2 separate regions of the Homo sapiens genome follow, and region 1 is linked to region 2. The links are contacts of gene promoters, found by promoter capture Hi-C in human tissues and cell types (Jung and others, 2019). All regions are on one chromosome and are shown on one strand. Each heading gives the region's core, a stretch centred on a gene start or on the middle of the fragment in contact. The rest is flanking DNA. Distances are from core to core; before and after follow the strand shown.

The links. The method cuts DNA at HindIII sites, captures the fragments that hold promoters and counts their contacts. A contact is called where the count stands out against the background at its distance.
Region 1: a contact is called between the fragment with the promoter of HMOX2 here and the fragment with the promoter of SLX4 in region 2, in 2 of the 25 tissues and cell types used here (dorsolateral prefrontal cortex and lymphoblastoid cells).

The regions. Positions count from the first base shown.
Region 1 is chr16:4,475,023-4,480,807 of GRCh38, forward strand. HMOX2 (heme oxygenase 2) reads left to right here and starts at 1,376. Exons shown (of 6, transcript NM_002134.4): 1 at 1,376-1,465. It overlaps LOC124903636 (a long non-coding RNA gene), which reads right to left. Exons shown (of 3, transcript XR_007064964.1): 3 at 4,242-4,539. It also overlaps a transcript of NMRAL1 not described here. RefSeq lists an enhancer at 1,172-1,673. The HindIII fragment of the contact is 17,527 bases long and covers 1-5,524 here.
Region 2 is chr16:3,608,917-3,614,752 of GRCh38, forward strand. It overlaps SLX4 (SLX4 structure-specific endonuclease subunit), which reads right to left and starts at 2,690. Exons shown (of 15, transcript NM_032444.4): 1 at 2,644-2,690; 2 at 1-650. The coding sequence starts at 48. It also overlaps a transcript of DNASE1 not described here. RefSeq lists a silencer at 2,548-2,897 and an enhancer at 2,938-3,007. The HindIII fragment of the contact is 5,274 bases long and covers 1-4,990 here.

The DNA of each region.
Region 1 (5,785 bases), core at 126-2,625, 860 kb after region 2:
CTTACTGCAACCTCCGCCCCCCGGGTTCAAGAGATTCTCCTGCCTCAGCCTCCCGAGTAGCTGGGATTACAAGCATGTGCCACCAAGCCCGGCTAATTTTTGTATTTTTTAGTAGAGACGGGGTTTCACCAGGTTGACCAGGCAGGTCTCGAACTCCTGACTTAAAGTGATCCACCCACCTCAGCCTCCCAAAGTGCTGGGAGTACAGGTGGGAGCCACCGTGCCCAGCCCTAACTCACTTCTGAAGTTGCTGCTACTTGCACTGATTTCAGTTTTTTTTTGTTTTTGTTTTTTGTTTTCAAGGTGGAGTCTTGCTCTGTGGCCCAGGCTGGAGTGCAGTGGTGGTGCGATCTTGGCTCACTGCAACTTCCGCCTCTTGGGTTCAAGTGATTCTCCTGCCTCAGTTTCCTGAGTAGCTGGGATTACAGGCAGGAGCCACCATGCCCGGCTAAAATTTTTTTGTATTTTTGGTAGAGACGGGGTTTCAACATGCTGGCCAGGCTGGTCTCGAACTGCTGACCTCAAGTGATCTTCCCGCCTCAGGCTCCCAAAGTGCTGGGATTACAGACATGAGCCACCACACCCGGCCCACGATTTCAGTAATTTCTTTGTGTTCAGTAAAACTAAAAAATGACTCTGGGCTGGGTGCGGTGGCCTGTAATTGCAGTGATTTGGGAGGCCGAGGCGGGTGGATCACCTGAGCTCAGGAGTTCGAGACCAGCCTGGCCAACATGGTGAAACCCCCGTCTCTACTAAAAATACAAAAATTAGCCGGGCGTGGTGGCAGGCGCTTGTAATCCCAGCTATTCGGGAGGTTAAGGCAGGAGAATCGCTTGAACCCGGGAGAAGGGGGTTGCAGTGAGCCGAGATCACGTCATTGCACTCCAGCCTGGGCGACGAGCAAAACTCGGTCTCAAAAAAAGAAAAATCATTCTGTCATTCTGGCCGCTGTTTGAAGAATGCGAATAATGCAACAGGGAGATCAGATACAAGACTGGTAACCGAGGTGTCAGAGTTGAGACTCAGTTTCGCAGATTGCATTGGCAAGTGACCAAGTGGGTGGTGCCACGGTTGACAACCCTATTTCTTACATCACTGAGTGGATGTACAAGGATTAAACCACACTGGGGAAGAAAAGTGCTCAACCCTGAGGCACCCTCACACACCTCGGCTCTTGTGAACACTAGTGTTCCTGCCGAAGCACGCCTACTTACCCCGCTGAGCAGAGCCTGAGCCTGCAACCTCCAGAGACCTGGGGAAAGCCACATACTCCGCTTCCCGCCCCCGGCAAGGGCGTGTCAGCTACAAGGGGCGTGTCATCTCTAGGCCCCGCCCCGCGCTGCGTGCCCACGTTGCGCCGGCCTCGCGCCAGTCCGCTGGGCTGCAGGGACTGCGGCGCCTGAGGGAGTCGCTGACGGGCACGCTGACTGGAGGCTGGCGGACAGGCGACAGCGACCTGCGGCAGGTGAGCTGTCCGCGCCCTCCCGGGGCCTTCCTTCCGCCCGGCTTCTCGGACCGCGCTGCGTCCTTCGCGGGCCCTGCCTCGGTCCAGGCCTTCGGACCTGGGCTTGGCCGGGCCACAGCCCTTTGGGTCCCCTGCGCCGGTCTGAGGGGAGACCCGGCCGGGGGCGGCCGGAAGCTGGGTGAGGCCGGGCAGAAGGACGAAGAAGGGCGTGGAGGGGCTGTCAGGGGAGGGCGAAACCGCGGACGCCGCTCTCCAGAAGTCGTCTCCCCGGGGGCGCGGGGAGGCCTGAATGGCTCTCTTTGGCGTCCCCGTTGGGCCCACCCTCTCCCAGCGTCACGGCTATGCTGGGCGAGGTGACCCCCGGGGTCGTAGCTGGGGGCGTCGGCGGTGCAGACAGGGGATGCCGGCAGAGATTGGAGCCCGGCTTGGCTGTTTCCCGGGCTGTTGGCATTGACCGGGGCTCTGCCCTTCCTCTAATGCCCTTATCTCTATAGGAAGTGCCCCTTGAGTGGGTGTCGTGACTTCACGAGTGAACCCTGGTACGCCCTGGAGCAGAGTCGGACTGGGAGGGATCAAGTGTGGGGGCAGCCGGTTAGTCCGGACGCGGGTTTACCTATTACTTTCTGAGCGCAGTGCTCTGGGTGGATTAATTGCCCTGCAAAAGCTGCCGGGACCTCCTTGCAGTCTTTGCACGAGGCCTGCCTGTGTCATGCCATTTAAATCGCGTCTGGGCCGGGTCGGTGGCTCACGCCTGTAATTCCAGCACTTTGGGAGGCCAGGGCGGGCGGATTGCTTGAGGTCAGGAGTCCGAGACCAGCCTGGCCAACATAGTGAAACCCCGTCTCTACTAAAAATACAAAAATCAGCCGGGCATGGTAACGTGAGCCTGTAGCTCCAGCTACTTAGGAGGCTGAGGCAGGAGAATCGCTTGAACCCGGGAGGCAGAGGTTGCAGTGAGCCGAGATCACGCCATTGCACTCCAGCCTGGGCGACAGAGCAAGACTCCATCTAAAAAAAAAAAAAAAAAAAAAAAAAATCGCTTCTGATGAGCCGGTTGTCGTGGCCTGTGGCTGTCCATCCTTACGTACTGTGTTTTGTTGATGGCGCTACAAACCAGACAAGGTGGAGTGTGATTGAAGAAAGAAACGCTGGCCGGTGCAGTGGCTCACTCCTGTAATCCCAGCACTTTGGGAGGCCGAGGCAGGCGGATCACCTGAGGTCAGGAGTTCGAGATCAGCCTGGCCAACATGGTGAAACCCCGTCTCTACTAAAAATACAAAAAAGTTAAACGGGCGGGGTGGCGCGTGTCTGTAATCCCAGCTACTGGGGAGTTTGAGGTTGGAGGATCACTTGAGCCCACGAAGTGGAGATTGCAGTGAGCTGAGATCGCATCACTGCACTCCAGCCTGGGTGACAGAGTGAGACCCTGTCTCAAAAAAGAAAAAAATAAATTATCACAAGACAAAATTTGTGCTTATCAGGAGTTCACAGTTAAGACATATATAAGCTTACTTGGTGAAATTAGAAAAAGTTATCAGATAAAACATTCAGGTTTAAACACTGGTGAGGGTGTGGGAATTTGTGGAGCCTTGGAAACACACTCATTGAATGACCTCATCTACCTGGGGATGTGAAGAGGGAAATCCTGTGATTCCTCCATTGTCTGACTTGATTTCCTTTTTTCCTTGGCTGTGGCAACATGTTGAAGTGCTGTGAGTCACCAAAAGGGGGAACGTGAGCAACTCTAGAAATGCCAGTGCCAGTGAGTTACAGACAATAAAGCATTGACCGCCTTTAGCTCACCCCTCATCAAGTCTGTTGAAAACTTGTAAAATTGGACAGCTAGAGCTACCTTGATTTTTTGGTTTCCTTTTAACAGCTGACTCTCTTCACAGGACAGTTGGGCTCTACATCAGGATTGCACCCAAAACTGGAATATCACTCCTCCAGGAGGAAGATATATTTGAAAATTAGAATTGTGGGCCCGGTGCAGTGGCTCATGCTTGTGATCCCAGCACTTTGGGAGGCCGAGATGGGCGGATCACCTGAGGTCGGGAGATAGAGACCAGCCTGACCAACATGGAAAAACCCCATCTCTACTAAGAAAAAAATAATAATAATACAAAAATTAGCTGGGCATGGTGGTGTGTGCCTGTAATCCGAGCTACTTGGGAGGCCGAGGCAGGAGAATCACTTGAACCTGGGAGGCAGAGGTTGCGATGAGCCAAGATTGTGCCACTGCATTCCAGCCTGGGCAACAGGAGCAAAACTGCATCTCAAAAAAAAAAAAAAGAAAGAAAGAAAATTAGAATTGTGTATTTCACTGTAAAATTTGAAATTCAGCTTTAACTCCTTGGAAAGGAAAGAGATGAAAAACTTGACCTAGACTGGGTGCGGTGGCTCACGCCTGTAATCCCAGCACTTTGGGAGACCAAGGCGGGTGGATCACCTGAGGTCAGGAGTTCGAGACCAGCCTGGCTAACATTGTGAAACCCCGTCTCTACTAAAAATACAAAAATTAGCCTTGCAAAAAGTAGCCTGTAATCCCAGCTACTCGGGAGGCTGAGCAAGGAGAATTGCTTGAACCTGGGAGGCAGAGGTTTCAGTGAGCCAAGATCATGCCATTGCACTCCAGCCTGGGCGACAAGAGCAAAACTTCATCTCAAAGAAAAAAAAATTCTATCAGAGTGAACAATAAGTAGGATGCTAGCACATACCTGTAATCTCAGCTACTTGGGAGGCTGAGGCAGGAAGTTAATACTTGATGAGCCTAAGTTTTTGGTGTCTTTGGATGCTGCTTGTCGATCTAAGGGGTTTCCAAACGCTTCTTTTTTGGTAAAATTGGGATTATGACTAGGAATCTGTTTTTTGGAGTTTCCCAGGTGATCCTTGTTTGGGGTCCTTGTCTAAGGCACAGGCTGGAAAGAGGAGGGAGTGGACTGGCAGGGAAGATAGAGCAGTAAGCGAATAGAATACCTGGGGAAAGGGACGCCAGAAGAGTGATTGTTGTCTGGTGAACTGTGCTGTCAGTGTGTATGTCAGAAGCCAACAAAGTGGATATTCTCTTCACTCAGCTTAGGGAAAAAATTAATTTTTGTTTCACAGATAGATTCGTTTCCTTCCCAGGAGTATTATAGGCCTAATTACTGTCATAGTTCTCAGTAACTTTAAAAAGGCTGTGGGGAAGAATGGCATAACAGACTAGTATCTTGTACCCAGCCTGCCTTTTTCTTATTCTATTTTTTTTTTTTTTTTTTTTTTTTTTTTTTTTGAGACAGTCTTGCTCTGTCACCCAGGCTGGAGTGTGGTGGCACAATCTCAGCTCACTGCAACCTCCGCCTCCTGGGTTCAAGCGATTCTCCAGCCTCAGTCTCCTGAGTAGCTGGGATTACAGGCGTATGCCACCATGCCTGGCTAATTTTTGTATTTTTAGTAGAGATGAGGTTTCACTATGTTGGCCGGGCTGGTCTCCTACTCCTGACCTCAGGTGATCCGTCCACCTTGGCCTCCCAAAGTGCTGGGGTTATAGGCATGAGTCGCTGCGCCCGGCTTTTTTATTTTTTATTTTTTATTTTTTTGAAACAGAGTCTGGCTCTTTCACCCAGGCTGGAGTACAGTGATCTGATCTGAGCTCACTGCAATCTCTGCCTCTGGGGTTCAAGCAGTTCTCCTGCCTCAGCCTTCCAAGTAACTGGGACTACAGGCATGCACCACCATGCCTGGCTAATTTTTGTACTTTTGGTAGAGATGGGGTTTCGCCATGTTGGCCACGCTGGTCTCCAGCTCCTGACCTCAAGCGAACCACCCTCCTTGGCCTCCCAAAGTGCTAGTATTACAGGCGTGAGCCACAGCACCCGGCCTTTTTTTTTTTTTTTTCCTTAGAGTCTTGCTCTGTCACCAGGGCTGGAGTGCAGTGGCGCCGTCTCGGCTCACTGCAACCTCTGCCTCCTGGGTTCAAGTGATTCTCCTTCCTCAGCCTCCCTAGTAGCTGGGATTACAGGTGTGTGCCACCACACCCAGTTAATTTTTGTATTTTTAGTAGAGACGGGGTTTCACCATGCTGGCCAGGCTGGTCTCAAACTCCTGACCTCAAGTGGTCCACCCACTTTGGCCTCCCAATTAGAATTAGAGGTGGAGCGACCGTGCCCGGCTAAGGGCCTACTATTTTTTTTTTTTTTTTTTGAGACAGAGTTTCACTCTTGTCACCCAGGCTGGAGTGCAGTGGTGTGACCTTGGTTCACTGCAACTTCCACCTCCCAGGTTTAAGCGATTCTCCTGCCTCAGCCTCTGGAGAAGCTGGGATTATAGGCGTCTGCCACC
Region 2 (5,836 bases), core at 1,440-3,939:
TGAACCCAAGTAGAAGCCTAGCTGAGCCTCATTCACACTCAGTTTCATTAGGGTTCTTCTCTACTTCTCCATTAGATACTTGGAGAGTTTGCACAATTGAACAAAAAGTACTGTTTTCCTCTCTATAATGATTGAAGTATCTTTGTTCAAATTGGGCCTGTGGTTAAACATGTTTAAAGCTTCCCTCTGTTAAAGTCCACAACTGGGCCGGGCGCGGTGGCTCACACTTGTAATCCCAGCTCTTTTGGAGGACGAGGCGGGGGGTGGATCACCTGAGGTCAGAAGTTCGAGACCAGCCTGGCCAATATGGTGAAACCTCGTTTCAACTGAAAATACAAAAAATTGGCCAGGCGTGGTAGCAGATGCCTGTAATCCCAGCTACTCGGGAGGCAGAGGCAAGAGAATCGCTTGAACCTGGGAGGCGGAGATTGCAGTGAGCCGAGATCGTGCCACTGCACTCTAACCTGGGCAACAAGAGCAAAACTCTGTCTCAAAAAATAATAATAATAAATAAATAAAGTTCACAACTGAAAGAGTGTTTTGTTGTCCAATAGATGCCTCTGAGATCGAATACATATGAACCTGGTGCTCAGATAATTCTCCAAGATCTCCATGATGATGAAACATATATGGTTCACTTAATTACACATCTGTGGAAAACCAAAAGCATGTAAGTGTAATCAGACATTGTCATTTTATGCCAGTTCTTCCAGGGAGGGACAAGGGCATGTGGGGTGAGGGAAAAGTCTTCGGAGTAACAATACTGTCAAATACTCAGTCCAGCCTGGTTAACATGGTCTAACCGTCCTATCAGACATCACAACAAAAGGACCTAGAAACCTGTCAAAGCATGTTGTTCTTCCACAGGTATTAAAATATGTGCATCTTGGGAGAGTGTTTTCTTAACTGAAATTTAGGGAGCAAACCCCATAAAAGGCAGTCACCACAGAAACAGGATGATCCCCAAATCTAGGAAAACTATCTCCTACACTGATCTAAGACCCCTGGCTGTTAAAGAGGCTCTTTCTGTAAATACTGCAACATAAGAGACAGAAAGAGACATTATATTCTCATGAACACTCAGGAGAGAAAAGGTCACTTTTACTTATCTTCTCAACCCAGCAAGGCTCTCCAAACCTGGATGACTGGAATGTCGCCTGTGTGCAAAGGCTGGGCCTCGTGAGCATGGTTGTTTACTTTGGCACACAGCTAAGTGGGGTTCAAAAATCAAAACTGAATGACCCAATGGCAGAAAGTTATTCCTTTCAAATACAATAATGCAATCTCCACTGTCCAAGGAATCTAATTAATCATTTTGTTTTCCAGAGCTGAAAATACTCCTACCTAGAATCTACTTTGTATGGCTGGCGCATTCTCTTCTGTGTCTTCCCCTTAGAGAAGTGTCCTCTAATCCTTTATGGACCGTCTCCATCCCCGTTAATCCCTATCATCGCCCACTGTTTTCACAATGGCATCTGTCATAGGTTATCATCATATGAAACAGGTAATATCTATCGAATGCTTACTGTGTGCCAAGCACTGTTCCAATTGCTTTCCAAGTCAAACTCGTTTAATCCTTACAAGAAGCCTATATGGTGGAATCTCTTGTCATCCTGTCTTTACGGCAAGGAAACACGCGCAAGCAGAATGAGGAACTGGCCTAAAGCCAGTTCAGGAACAGCTTTCACAGTGGCAGGGCTGGGATCAAACCCAGGAAGTGTGGTTCGAAACTATCCGCTCTTGTGTTTTTATTCATCGGCTTATTATCTGTCCCCCATTAAGCTCAACACTTCAGGAGGGTAGAGATCCATCTATTACTTTGCAACCTCTTTGGCTGATCTGGTGCCTGACTTGAAATAAGTGCTCCACAACTACTTGTTGAATTCATGAATTGCAAAGAGTTCGGTATAATGGGAGTAGAGAGAAAGGTGTAGGAGAAAACGCTGCGGGGAGAGGAAAGGATTGGCTCACAAGGGCCTGGAAGGTCAGGCTAGGCAAAGTGAATTTTATCCTGTTGGATGCGGGGAGCGGCTGGAACAAATTCCACCTCCACAACTGTGTTGATCTCCGCATCTCTGTTGATATGAACCTCACAACAGTCTATCTCCTCCTATAGGTGCCCAGTCAAGATTTACTGAATGACATAACGGATCCTGCAAGCCTGCAGGTTTCCAGAGGGAAGGGGACTTGTGCCTCCTTGCTTCGTACCTACCGCAGCCCACGGCTCACAGCAGGCGAGGGATGAATGAATGGATCGGTAAGGGGCGGACCCTCCCGCTTCCCCCAACCCGGCGACCTACGGAAAGGGGCTGAGGGGTTCCCCGTCTGGGAAAAGGGCTGCCAAAGACTCTAACGGCTCTAAAGTCAGACGGAGAACCCCGATCCCCGGACTGGCCCGGACGGAGACCACCGTGGGGATCCGGATCCGCCACCCTCCTCCCTCCAGGCGGGCCCCGGCCCCTCTCCACCCGAGTGCGGCTCCTGCCTCTCCGTCGGGGCTGCGGGCCTGCCGAGGCCACGGAGCCAGCGAGGGAGACGGGCGAGAAAGGCTCTTCTCCCTTAGGAAAGAGAGAACGGCCCGAAATGACAGGACCTCCGCCTCCCGGGTGCCGACTCCCAGCCCCACAGCCCGGCTCCTCCTACCTCCGGCGCCGCCGCGGCACCTTCTTAACGGAGACTCGCGCGCCTGCGCATGCGCCGCCCGCGCCCCCGCGGAGCATTGCCTGCGCGCAGGCGCAGAGCGGGCGCGCGCGGTGGTGCGGCAGCCTCGCTTCCGGTCTTCCTCTGCGGCGCCGGGCGCGGGCCCGCGGCGGCCAGCGCTTCCGGTCGGCAGGAGGCGGGGCGAGGCGGAAGCGGCGCTTGCTTCAGGTGGAGTCTGTTAGTTTTTGAGAAAGAGTTAGGGCGAGTTTAAGGCACTGTGGCAGCTGTGAGATAAAGTCTGGTTCCTCCCCAGCTGGCTCAGGAAATGTTCGCGGATACAACGGCGGCCCCCTCTGGGCATACCTGCCTGTGGAGCGGAGAGTGGACGGTGTGAGGGGGACCGGGAGAGGCACCAAATCTGGCCTGGGGGCCCGAGAAGCTTCCTCTCAGGTGGGGTGGCGTGAGAGTCGAGGCCTGGAGGTCGGGGAGGGTTAGCTACGTGAAGAGGGGATTCTGCCGCGCTTCAGGTGCCTGGAGGGGATGCCCGAGCTCTTCCGCAGGGCTAGGGTGAAGCCAGCCAGGGCCTGGGGGAAAGGTAGCAGAGGTTTGCCATGGCTTGGTATTTGAGGGACTTTACACATCGTATTAAGGGTTTGAGCTTCAACTTGGGGTCGTCGGGAGCCATTGAAGGTTTTTTGTTGTTTGTTTTTTGAGACGGGGTTTTGCTCTTGTTGCCCAGGCTGGGGTGCAGTGGCGCGATCTCGGCTCACTGCAACCTCTGTCTCCCGGGTTCGAGCGGTTCTTGTGCCTCACCTTCCCAAGTAGCTGGGATTACAGGCGCCAGTCACCACGCCCAGCTAATTTTTGTGTTTTTAGTAGAGACTAGGTTTCACTCTGTTGCCCAGGCTGGTCTCCAACTCCTGACCTCAGGTGATCCGCCCGCCTCGGCCTCCCAAAGTGGTGGGATTACAGGCGTGAGCCACCGCTCACGGCTTTTTTTTTTTTTTTTTTTAAGTAGAGACGGGCGGTGGGGGCGGGGGGGGGAGTCTCACTATGTTGCCCAGGCTGGTCTCGAGCCCTGGCCGCAAGAGATCCTCCCGCCTCGGCCTCCCAAAGCGCTGAGATTACAGGCGTGAGCCACCACGCCCGGCGTAAGATTTTGTTTTTAAAGGCCTAATTACAGTGAGAACAGATGAGGCAAGGACACCCATTAGGAGGCTATTACATAATCTAGATGAAAAGTGAGAGCGGCCCGAATTAGGAGGTGGAGCGAAAAGAATGGAGAAATATGGAGCATAGTCAAGACGCAGTTGTTAACGATTTGCCGGTTTCTGGCCTTAACATCTGAGAGTAGTGTGCCTCCAGTCACTGAAATAATGAACACAGGAGAGGTGTAAAGGAATCAGTTTGCAGGGCAGACAATATGTTTTTTAAAAGATACAGTATCATAAAATGCACACTAGAAGTGTACATTCAGTGGTTTCCAGTACGTTCACAGGATTTGCAGCCATCGTCGCTAATTCCAGAACGTTTTAAAACCCCAAATCGAACCTGCCGTACCCATTCGTAGTCACTCCGCAATTCCCCCGACCCCATCCCCTGGCAATCACTTATCGGCTTTCTGTCTCTGTGGTTTTGCGTATTCAGTACATTTTATGTAAATGGGATCATGTGATACTTGGCTTTTTCTGCTGGGCTTTTATTAAGCATGTTTTCAAGATTTCATCCATGTAGATGAATCAGTACTGCATGCCTTTTCATGGCTGCATAATCACGTGTTTGGATGGACCATGTTTTGTTTATCCATGTATCAGGTGATGGGCATATGGATGTTTTTACTTTTTGGCTGTTAGAAATAATGCTGCTATGAACATTCGTGTTCATAACACAAGTTTTTGTGTTCTAGGAGTGGAATTACTGGGTAAGACTACATTTGATTCTGAATGTTGAGCTTCAAAACCTTCCAAGAGGTTTTCCTTGATGAAGGATTTAGGAGGTGTTTACTTGCTCTCTGGCTTGGAAATCTAAGTTAGTTTGTAATATGGTTTCCAACTGGATAAAGAAGACAGAACAAGAATGATAAGCAGCCCAGAGGCAAGGGTAGGGCAGGGTGTCTTGGGACTTGAATTTATAGAGGAGACTGAGTGACGACATGGAGAGGCCAGTGCTGTTGAAATAATTTCTCTTTCCTTCCTTCCCTTCCTTGCTTCGTTTTCGACGGAGTTTGGCTCTTGTTGCCCAGGCTGGAGCGCAGTGGTGTGTGCAACCTCCACTTCCCTGGTTCAAGCGATTCTCCTGCCTCAGCCTCCGGAGTAGCTGGGATTACAGGCGCCCGCAACCGCGCCTGGCTAATTTTTTTTTTTTTTTTTTTTTTTGGACAAAATCTCGCTCTGTTGCCCAGGCTGGAATGCAGTGGTGTGATCTCGGCTCACTGCAAGCTCTGCTTCCCGGGTTCACGCCATTCTCCTGCCGCAGTCTCCCGAATACCTGGGACTACAGGCGCCCGCCACCACACCTGGCTAATTTTTTGTATTTTTAGTAGAGACGGGGTTTCACCATATTAGCCAGGATGGTCTCGATTTCCTGACCTCGTGATCTGCCCGCCTTGGCCTCCCAGAGTGCTGGGATTACAGGTGTGAGCCACCGCGCCCGGCGTAATTTTTTGTATTTCTAGTAGAGACGGGGTTTCACCATGTTGGCCAGGCTGGTCTCAAACTCCTGACATCAGGCGGGCGATCTTCCTGCCTGGACCTCCCAAAGGGCTGGGATTACTGGTGTGAGCCACCGCGCCTGGCCTGAAATAATTTACTTACATTTCTCAAGAAAAGGAGGCGTGCCACCACGTTCAGAGCCACAAGGGAGACATCAGCTTTTGGTTAGGAGGAAGAAATAGGAACAAGGAGAAAGTCTAGGCCAGAACCTTTATGGGGTTCCTCAGAAATAGCAAGTCAGGGCGGAGTAAACATTTTAGGATTGGATAATTTAAATAATTCCATCACGCTTTGCCTTTGGGTGGTCTCTAGTTGCTTGGTACCTGGCCATGGATGATTTAGGGCAGGAGAAATACTGGCTTGGTGTGTGAGAGTTAGATAAAGGGGGGAGGCTGACTTGCCTGTGAGAGGCATGCTCCCAAGTAAGTTGTTTACTGTCTTGAGGAATTAGACCTGGGAGAGGCAGTCTCCCTGCCAGCAAGATT